Linked DNA regions of Homo sapiens: region 1 is linked to region 2. Evidence: promoter capture Hi-C in 16 types of primary human blood cells and fetal thymus (Javierre and others, 2016). All regions are on one chromosome and are shown on one strand. The core of a region is centred on a gene start or on the middle of the fragment in contact, and the rest is flanking DNA. Distances in the headings are between cores, read along the strand shown. Region 1 overlaps ZNF831 (zinc finger protein 831). Region 2 holds the start of GNAS (GNAS complex locus).

Evidence for each region. Contacts are between HindIII fragments. The CHiCAGO score rates a contact against its expected background, and 5 or more counts as called.
Region 1: a contact is called between a fragment that was not itself captured here and the fragment with the promoter of GNAS in region 2, in 13 of 17 cell types (total B cells, naive B cells, naive CD4 T cells and 10 more). The highest score is 14.4, in total B cells.

Annotation. Positions count from the first base shown.
Region 1 is chr20:59,209,623-59,216,087 of GRCh38, forward strand. All of the region lies in intron 4 of ZNF831 (zinc finger protein 831), which reads left to right. Among named protein-coding and RNA genes, the nearest start is that of ZNF831, 49 kb to the left of the region's middle. The HindIII fragment of the contact is 1,003 bases long and covers 3,990-4,992 here.
Region 2 is chr20:58,890,057-58,892,670 of GRCh38, forward strand. GNAS (GNAS complex locus) reads left to right here and starts at 1,365. Exons shown (of 13, transcript NM_000516.7): 1 at 1,365-1,809. The coding sequence starts at 1,671. RefSeq lists silencers at 623-772, 833-1,332, 1,343-1,562, 2,433-2,522. The HindIII fragment of the contact is 29,581 bases long and covers 1-2,614 here.

The DNA.
Region 1 (6,465 bases), core at 3,241-5,740, 320 kb after region 2:
TGTAAGAAATTGCCACAAAGGTGGTGGCTTTGAACAGTAAAACTGGATTCTCTCCCAGTTTTGGAGGCCAAGAGAGGCTGATGCTCCCTCTGGACTTTCTAGGGGTGATCCTTCCTGGCCTCTTTTGGCTTCTGGGGCCTCCAGCTATTTCCTGCTATTTCCTTGGTTTGTTGCCTCATCTACGTCTTGTGGCCTCTGCCTACATCTTCATGTGGACTTCTCCCTGTGTCACTGTGGGTCATATCTTCTTCTGTCTTTCTCTTATAAAGACACTTGTCTTTGGATTTAGGAGCCTCACTAAACGTGGGCTTATCTCATTTCAAGATCCTTAATTTGATTACTGCTTCTGAGACCCTTTTTCTAACTCAGGTCATACCCATCCACAGGTTCCATGGACTAGGACCTCAGGGCCACTATTCAACCATCCTTACAGGTTTTATCCTATCTGTGAACCAACAGAAGTGGCCTTAAAATGTGTTTGTAAACAAAAAAGGCAGGGACACACACGGACACTCAGTGCACAATAATGCACATCATCTGGGCTCTCATTGTTTGTAAATCATTTTTGCAGGAAAGTTCTATTATAAACCTAATACAATTAAAACAGAATTGCCCCGGCCACTGCCAGCAGGACATGCTCCACACTTGGGGGAACAGTTGTCCAAGTGACCACGGGTAGCCTCGATGCTGATAGCTATGGGGCCCACTGGCTTCCCTTCAGGAAGAAAGCCCAGTGGCCGGCGGGATGGGGCTCCGCGGAGCCGCCATATGTGAGGATTGTGTTTGTTGGAGCTGAAATCCGTCTGTGGCCTGACTTGTCTGGCTCACACGCTGGCCCTGAGCATGAGGCTGTGTCAGCTGCAGCAGGGACACCTGCTCCTCTCTCCCCCTCCACAGGGGACACAGTTCCCAACGTGTTCCATGGAAGTTGGCACCCCTGCCTCATCTGCAGCTTATCCTGCATGCTCATGGTGACCCTGGGGGCCTCAGTGAGCAGAGAGCCCAGAATGAAAAGCCCTTTCACCCCTTCTTCCCTTCAGCCTCAGGGAAGGGTCCTGCACGCTCACCCCATGGACTAATGGAGGAGTCCCAGAGATCCTGAGCTCCCTCCATGTGGGGGAAATCCCACTTCCATAAACATCCTGTTTCAACATCAGCATTTCATTGCTTTCTTCACACCTAAATCCCAAGAGCAAACTGGGGGCACCAATGAATGGTGAATAAAACCAAATCCCCCCGTCTCTACTAAAAATACAAAAAATTAGCCGGGCGCGGTGGCGGGCGCCTGTAGTCCCAGCTACTCGGGAGGCTGAGGCAGGAGAATGGCGTGAACCCGGGAGGCGGAGCTTGCAGTGAGCCGAGATTGCGCCACTGCAGTCCGCAGTCCGGCCTGGGCGACAGAGCGAGACTCCGTCTCAAAAAAAAAGAAAAAAAAAAAAAAAACAAATCCAAGGAGAAAAAAAAATTCAGAAACAAAACCTGAATATAGATCTAAGAAACAAGTGGCTTTCCATAGCTCAGATTCCTGCTGGGAACACAGCTCCACCACCCCATCCCCTTACATAGGTAATAAGGCCCCAGCAACAGCCTGGAATGGTGACAAATATCTATGCTTTCATGTTTGTTATTTGAGCATCCAGTTGAACCAGGGGCCTAGGTCCCTGGCTCCCATTTTCAAAGGCCCTCCTCTCCAGCAATTAGGAAGGACATGGAGAATGTCCACTGCAGGGCAGCTGTGAGCTGCAGGATGTGGTAGAAGCCCTAGCCCAGAGAATATCAATCACTGCCTGCTCCTTATTGAAGTGTCAGAGAGGGAACCGGGAAGGCTAGTAGGGCAAACCAGCAAGCTGGGGTTGACAGATCATGATGGACACCATGGAGTTGGAGGGTGGAAGAATGCTTTAAAATAAATACCACTGGAAATCAAAGGGGCACAGGGGTTTTATTACCAGCACTTGCCAATACCAATATTTCACAGTAGAGTGACAGGCACTCTGAGGGCACTGGGTGTTTGAAGACAAAGCACTGTCACTTCAAAGGAACCCAGAGTTGAGCCTGGCGGTCCACCACTTATAAACAACTTTCTCGGGTCTCCTTTGACCTGGCGCGTCCTGGATGGAGAGATCAGAGCTGCGTCCTCGGTGAGGGAGCTGACCTTGTGTGTGTGTGTGTGTGTGTGTGTGTGTTTGCTCGTGAGTGTGCCTGTGTTTTTTTCTTTCTGAGGAGAGATGACCTGTTTTCCATGGCAGGACAATGATGGGGTAATCTGTTTTGGGTGACCCAAAGGGCTGTAACTTGGGGAAACTTGGTAGAATCCAACAAAGAAATTGAGAATGACCTTTGTGTAGGTGGAGGTGGGTGGGATTTCTCAATTTAAAGGCAGAGAAAAACTTTAGATACTAATCCTTTTAGGCCAGCTAGAATCAGCAAAACATTCAGAAATAAGAAGTCATGAATACTTGTGTCCAGGGACTGAAATAAGATGTGATAACTGATAATTTTGTCTTCTTTATTTTTTGGAGACACTTCCTGTCAATAACTTGGGAGGATGATGGAGAGAGAGTTTTTTAAAAAAATATTTTTAAAAAAGATGTTTAATTTCCCTCTCTCCTAAACTATTCCAAAAGCATGGTTCTAATCATTTGAATTAACAGATGGCTTGGCAGTGAAGTCATCTGTAAGCAGAAGGCCAGAGGAGTTATGAAGGATAAAGACCTACCGTGTAAGATTGTACATCGATTGGAGTCTGTGAGACTGCCCGGACAACTGAGTCTTTTTTCCCTAATCCTAAATCCGGTAGTCCATTCCATCCAAGTTTCCAGCTAGTGGGTGCAGGAAACTTGAAATTTCTTTTTAAATATCAACTAAGGTGTATTTCCCAGGCACCCCAGGCTGAGTGTGACTAAGAATGGACAGAAGTTTTGCCGTTTTAAAGAACATCCTTCCTCATTGCATTTGCTTTAGGATCAGGGCTGAGGGGTGCACTTAATCTCATAGACTGGGGCTGTCTCATTGAAGGGATTGGTAAGAAAGTTCTTAGATATCAAGTCATTGATGTACCAGGGAAAACAGGCATCTACCTTATAATCCAGATGTTCTTTATGGAGCACTCCAGTCATAAGGTTGGCTGGTTAGGTGGGAACATGAGAACTTTCCCTAATAGACTGACTGCTGGTAAATTTAGACCCCATTCAATTCTCTCTCTCCTTGCCTACCATCACATCCATCCATGCCCTTCAGATTAATTTTCGCAATATCATGGAAATTGATTGCTAAGTGAAATTGCAAATTGTGCTCAAGATGTTGCATTTTGTGAAACTGATAGAAAAGACCATTGGCAGCCTGCTGATTCACACCCATTGGCAGAATCAGACTAGGTGACAAATGAACAAGAGAAAAGTGACAAAGATGATAACTCTAGGAGAGTGACTTGAATATCAGAGGCTTAAGAGAAGTCTTTGGAAAGATTGATAAAGCTCTATAATATTTTTTTGGGGGTGGGAGTCCTTCTTGATGACCTAGCAATTAAAGTAAATGCGAGGTAAATAGTCCATTGGTCTACCCTACAATTTTATGTAAAAATGTATGTCCTCATCAATACTTGACTACGTTTTGTTGATTTTTAACAATTAGCTCATAGTTTGCCATTATAACCTCCAAAATGGAGGTTTATTTTTATTTTATCGTTGTGGGCATATTAGCTTATTTTCACAACTTTTGGTTTTGTCGTTTTTCCAGATAAATTCTCAAAGTCCTTAATACTATTCACTGTGAAATTGTGGTATTGCGAATTAATTGTGAATGAATTCATTTTAGGTGGCCTTTCCCCTGTAGCAATGATCTCAACTAAAGAAGACCTTGTTTACCAAGCTGCTAGGTCATCTCCTCCATGTTTGCATCCAGGGGCCTAGCAATGTAGCCGGTCCTCAATAAAGTTTGTTGAATGAACAATTTAACAAACATAAGTTTCTTTACCTTGAGGTTCCTGAAGCTTAGTTTCAGGTGAAAGCACCAGCAAAGACCAGCCCCCAAATCTTTGAGCATGAACAAGAGCGAGCATGCCACTTGGAGTCTTGGTTTCTGATTGTGCGTTGTGTCAAAAATGGAAAAATCCAGTGGGTTACCAGTGGGATGGCAGTGGAGTAACCGCAAAATTCAACTCTATGGAATCACCATTTTCAACCTTAGGGGTCATCTTATGTCACCTCCGTTTTATGGATGGAAGCTCTGGGGAGGTAAAAGTAGTAACCGAACTGCGAATGTCCTTTCCATGCCTTTTAACCTGACGTCCTCTCTCTCCCACACTACAGTGGGGCCATGTTGTAAAGGCTGGTGAGGTTTGTTTCCAAAGCTGGCCCCCAAGGCACAATCCCTATTGTCAAAATTATCTTTGAGAATCCTGCAAATCTATCATAAGGGTACGATTTGTTTATACAACTCTGAACAGAAATTCTCGTGCACAATATGCGTGAGGACTGCTGAGATGAAAGAAGGAAAGAAAAAAGGCCATCCATCCATGCAGGCAGCTTTGAAGATAAACAGCAAATCCTCCCACTGAAGAGAGGTTAGAAAAATTCCCACGTGTCCCTGCTTCACTGCATGGTGTGTGCCATTTGGTTTTAGCATTAAGCCTCTAAAACTGCTGTGACATCTTAATGGATTGAGTTGTTATGGTGAGGATTAAGCAAGATAGTGGAGTTGTGTCTTCTTGGGTCAGGGAAGGGTGAGCTTCAACAGTCAGGGTGTAGGTTAAATGCATGTGTGATGGGACTGTGCTGCCGTTTCATTTCTCACTTGGAATGCCTTTCTTACTCTAGCATAGGAACTGGGGGGCAGTTTTCCACTGGACAGCTACTCCATGTCATCTTGAGTCAGCTGGTGCCACTCAGTCAAAGACCGTCCCTTCTAGCCCAAGGAGAAATTCACAGCAAATCATGTCTTGAAAATGCTCTTCCCACTATTTTCCCAGTTAGAGTCTCACTTAGGAAGACAAGCTTCGCATGTATGTGTGTGTGTCTGCACATGTGCTCACATGCTCTTGTGTCAGTTTTCCATTAGAAAAAGCAATTGAAAATTACACATCCATATGAAGGGTGATGCCACCTAAGCAAAAGCTGCCGAAGATTCTCTGTTGTGGTTACACAATTTCTGATGAGGTCACTGATCTGAAATGATTATTATTCAGAATGTAGGGAGGTAGGGGGATGAAGGCAACGTCATTGATTTTGTTTGTATTTCAACTGGGACATCCTGTTCTCTGTGATCCTAATGCCCATCAACATACAGCCTTATTATCATTCTCCTAATATGACAGTTATTGACCCTTGGGCTGCAAAAAATAATCTCATAAATAGATTTTCCCTGTTTTTATATTTATCTGCACATCTCTTTCTAGCCGATGACATATCAGCTTTGTAAAAAATTATTATTATTGAAAACCTCTGTGCTAAAAGTTCCATTAACTGAGACCTGTTCTATTTACTCGAATGCTTGGGTACATTAAAACATTCCGTGGTATAAAGAGTGCTCTTATATATTTCCTTAGAAACACATTTTGCGGAACTGAATGGAGAACATTGATGTGGTTGAGGTTAATTATTTGGGCTTTTGCTGGGCACATTGGAAGTCGTGCCGCTTCTCCTGGTACACAGACTAAAATTGGAACAGTGAAGAGGAGCTGAGCATGGCCCTGTGCCCAGATGACACATCTGAAGTCTTATTGATTGAGGGAGATGTTTTATTGAACGATAAGAACTACATTGAGTTTATGGTTTTGCAATTTCCTGCAGCTGGCATGGTTTATAACAGTAAACACAGCAAGGTTCAGGGCTATATTTCCAATGGAGATTTTAGAAAACTCTCTCAATAACTAAACTCAGGAGGCACTTTCGATTTAGGAAGCTCATATGCATTTATTCCCTTGGACACACTTGTGATGAGTGACTTTTATCCTCTTTTGGCAGATGGAGAAACTGAGGCTTAGAGAGTTGTCCAGTGACTTGCCCAGAGGCACCCAGATGATTGATCTGGGGATCAGCACTGAGGCCTAAATTGAAATCATCTAGGTGCCACCTTCAGAACTTTTGTTGCATCTACATGTCACCTATGTGATTCTTTACTTATTTTTTCTCCTAGGTGCACTTACAAAAAAACTTAAGTCCAATTATTTCAAGAGAAGCTGTTTATCGATACTGAAAATGAAAAGTTAATATTATGTGCCATTAAGGGAACATGGCAAAAATATAAACCCTACAATGTTTTTGGTAAATAAGTTCTAGCCAGAATCTGTTGTGAGCTGAAGTCCATGAGCCCTAGGAATACCCCTTCTGCTAAAAAGAGATTTGGAAGTGTTAGGGAAGCATTCAAGATGCATTAGCACCTAGTCGAGACTTTCTTCTCTCCTTAATCAGAAGATTAAAAGAGAATAGAAGAGAGAACAGCTTCATCATTGTGCAATTCAGTTTT
Region 2 (2,614 bases), core at 115-2,614:
CAAGAACCCGGCGCGGGAGGCGCTCCCCGAAAAGTTCCTAACAGACAAGGAGCGCAAGAAGCTCGAGAAGAAGCTGCTGGAGCAGAGGCGAAAGGAGGAGAAGAAGAAGGAGAAGGAGAGGAAGAAGATGGAGAAGATGCTGAAGAAGAAGAAGAAGAAGGTGCCAGAAGCCCAGGAGGAGGCCCGATGCCCCGAGGCCGCCGCCGCCGCGGCCGCCGCCGACGACGACGAGGGCGCCGAGGAGGGCGCCGTCGGGGGCGCCGAGGAGGGCGCCGCCGCCGGGGGCACGAGTAGGGCCTGGGCTGACTGGGACACGGACTCGAGCGACGAGGACGACGCCTACTACGCGGCGCCGCGCGTTGGGGGCATCGTGTGGCGGCCCGGGCCGCTCAAGGCTGGCGCGCTGAGCGCCCACCTGCCCCTCGTGGTGTTCCTGGTCTTCTCGGTGCGCAGCCCCTCGTGGGTGCTCAACTTCCTGCTGCAGAAGCGCACGGAGCAGGGCCGCGGCTGCGGCTTCGTGTTCGGGGCGACCTGCTGCTTCCGAGTGTTCCTGGGCTGCGCCTTCTTCTCCTACTTGGGCGGCCGCGCCAAGCGCAGAGGCCGCGGGCGCTCCGGGGCCAGAGGCGCCTTCGGCTCGGGCCATGGCGCCCGGCGCCGGGGGCGCGAGGAGCGGCTCATCTAGTCAGACCCCCCACCCCGCCACCGCCACCAGACACCACCATCGCTGTGTAGTGTGGGTTTTTATTCGTGTTCGTGTGTGTGTGTGGACACATTTTCCTTTTCGGTTGCTCTGTCCTTTGGTTCGTGCTCGCCTCGCTTTTTCCACACTCCTGCTCTCTGGCTCTCTGTGTCTCTCGCTCTTTCGAAAATTTTCCTAAGTCCGGGCGCGCGCTCCCTCCCCTTCCGCCCACCCCAGCCCCTCGGCGGCGCCCGCGGGAGGGGGAGGAGGCCTCGGGGGCGCCGGGCGACGCGGTCCGGGGGGTGGAGCGTTGGCGTCGTGCGAGGGGTCGTCACTGGCGCGGAGACGCCCCCTCTCCCCCCTCGGCTCAGCCGGGCTGCTGCCCGAGCCCGGGGGGTGGGGGGCGTCTCCCCGGCCCGTCCCGTCCCCGGCCGGGCGCGGGCGGAGGGACCCCCTCCCCGGGCTCCCGGGGGGCCGCCTCCCTCCGCCGGCTCCCGCCCTCCCAGCCGCCGCCGCCGCCGCGGCCGCTCCTCGGCCCTCCTCCTCCTCCTCCTCCTTCCACCCCCCTCGCCGCCGCCGCCTCCTCCTCCCCCCGCCTCCCCCCGCCCGCCGCGGCGCTTTTGGCTCGGGGCGGCGGCGGGGGCCCGGCCGAGGCAATAAGAGCGGCGGCGGCGGCAGCGGCGGCAGCAGCTCCCGCAGCTCCTGCTCTGGTCCGCCTCGGCCCGGCGGCGGCCATCAGCCCCCTCGGCCTCGGCTCGAGGGGCGGGGAGCTGCGCGCGCCCCTCGGTCCGACCGACACCCTCCCCTTCCCGCCCGTCCGCGCGCCCCGCGGCCCGCGGCCCGCAGTCCGCCCCGCGCGCTCCTTGCCGAGGAGCCGAGCCCGCGCCCGGCCCGCCCGCCCGGCGCTGCCCCGGCCCTCCCGGCCCGCGTGAGGCCGCCCGCGCCCGCCGCCGCCGCAGCCCGGCCGCGCCCCGCCGCCGCCGCCGCCGCCATGGGCTGCCTCGGGAACAGTAAGACCGAGGACCAGCGCAACGAGGAGAAGGCGCAGCGTGAGGCCAACAAAAAGATCGAGAAGCAGCTGCAGAAGGACAAGCAGGTCTACCGGGCCACGCACCGCCTGCTGCTGCTGGGTAAGGGCGGGCGGGGGGCGCCGGCCCCGGCCCGGGGGCCCTCGAAGGGCGCCCCGCAGGCCGCGCGCGCCGAGCCCGCCCCCCGCCCCGGGCGCGCGCTCCCGAGCCCCCCGCCCGTTCGCGGGCTCTGTCTGTGGGGGGCGAGGCCGGAAGGGGGACCCAGGGGCGCGGATTCGGCCGGGCGGGGGCTCAAAAACGGGGCGGGGGGCCGTGGCGACGCGGGCGCGGGTCCCCCTCCCCCGGCCTGCCCGCTCAGTGTCTCTCTCTTGCTCTCGCTCTCGCTCTCCCCCTCTTTCTCTCTTTCTCTCTTTTTCCGCGAGGCCTACACGACGCCAGGGGTTTGGGTGCGTGTTGGGGAGGGGGAGGGGGAGCCCATGGGGCTCCGGAGACTGCGACAAAAAGAGGGTTTCGGGGACAGGAAACCGGGTGGCGGGTAGAGGGAGGGGGACCCGCCTCCGTGGGGTGTGAGATTTGTTGGGAGAGGGAAAGAGGGGAAGAAAGGGGCGAGGAGAGGAGGGGGTGACGCTGGGGGGCGCCGTGGTGGCGGAGGGGGCCTCGCCAAAGGGAGGCTTTGGCGGGGAGAAGTGGCCGAGGAGAGTGGGGGGGCTGGTGACATCAGCCCCTCGGAAAGGATCGGAGCGGTAAAGGTGGTGCAGTGGGGGGGAGGGGGCGCAAGGGAGTCGTGGCGCCGGAGTCGGGAGGGGGGCGGCGAGGGGAGGAGGGAGGGCGGTTGCCGCTGGGCGCGACTTGGTGCGTTTCGGGCAGGACCGACTGACTGTGTGTGCGCGGAGCAGACGTGTCCCGG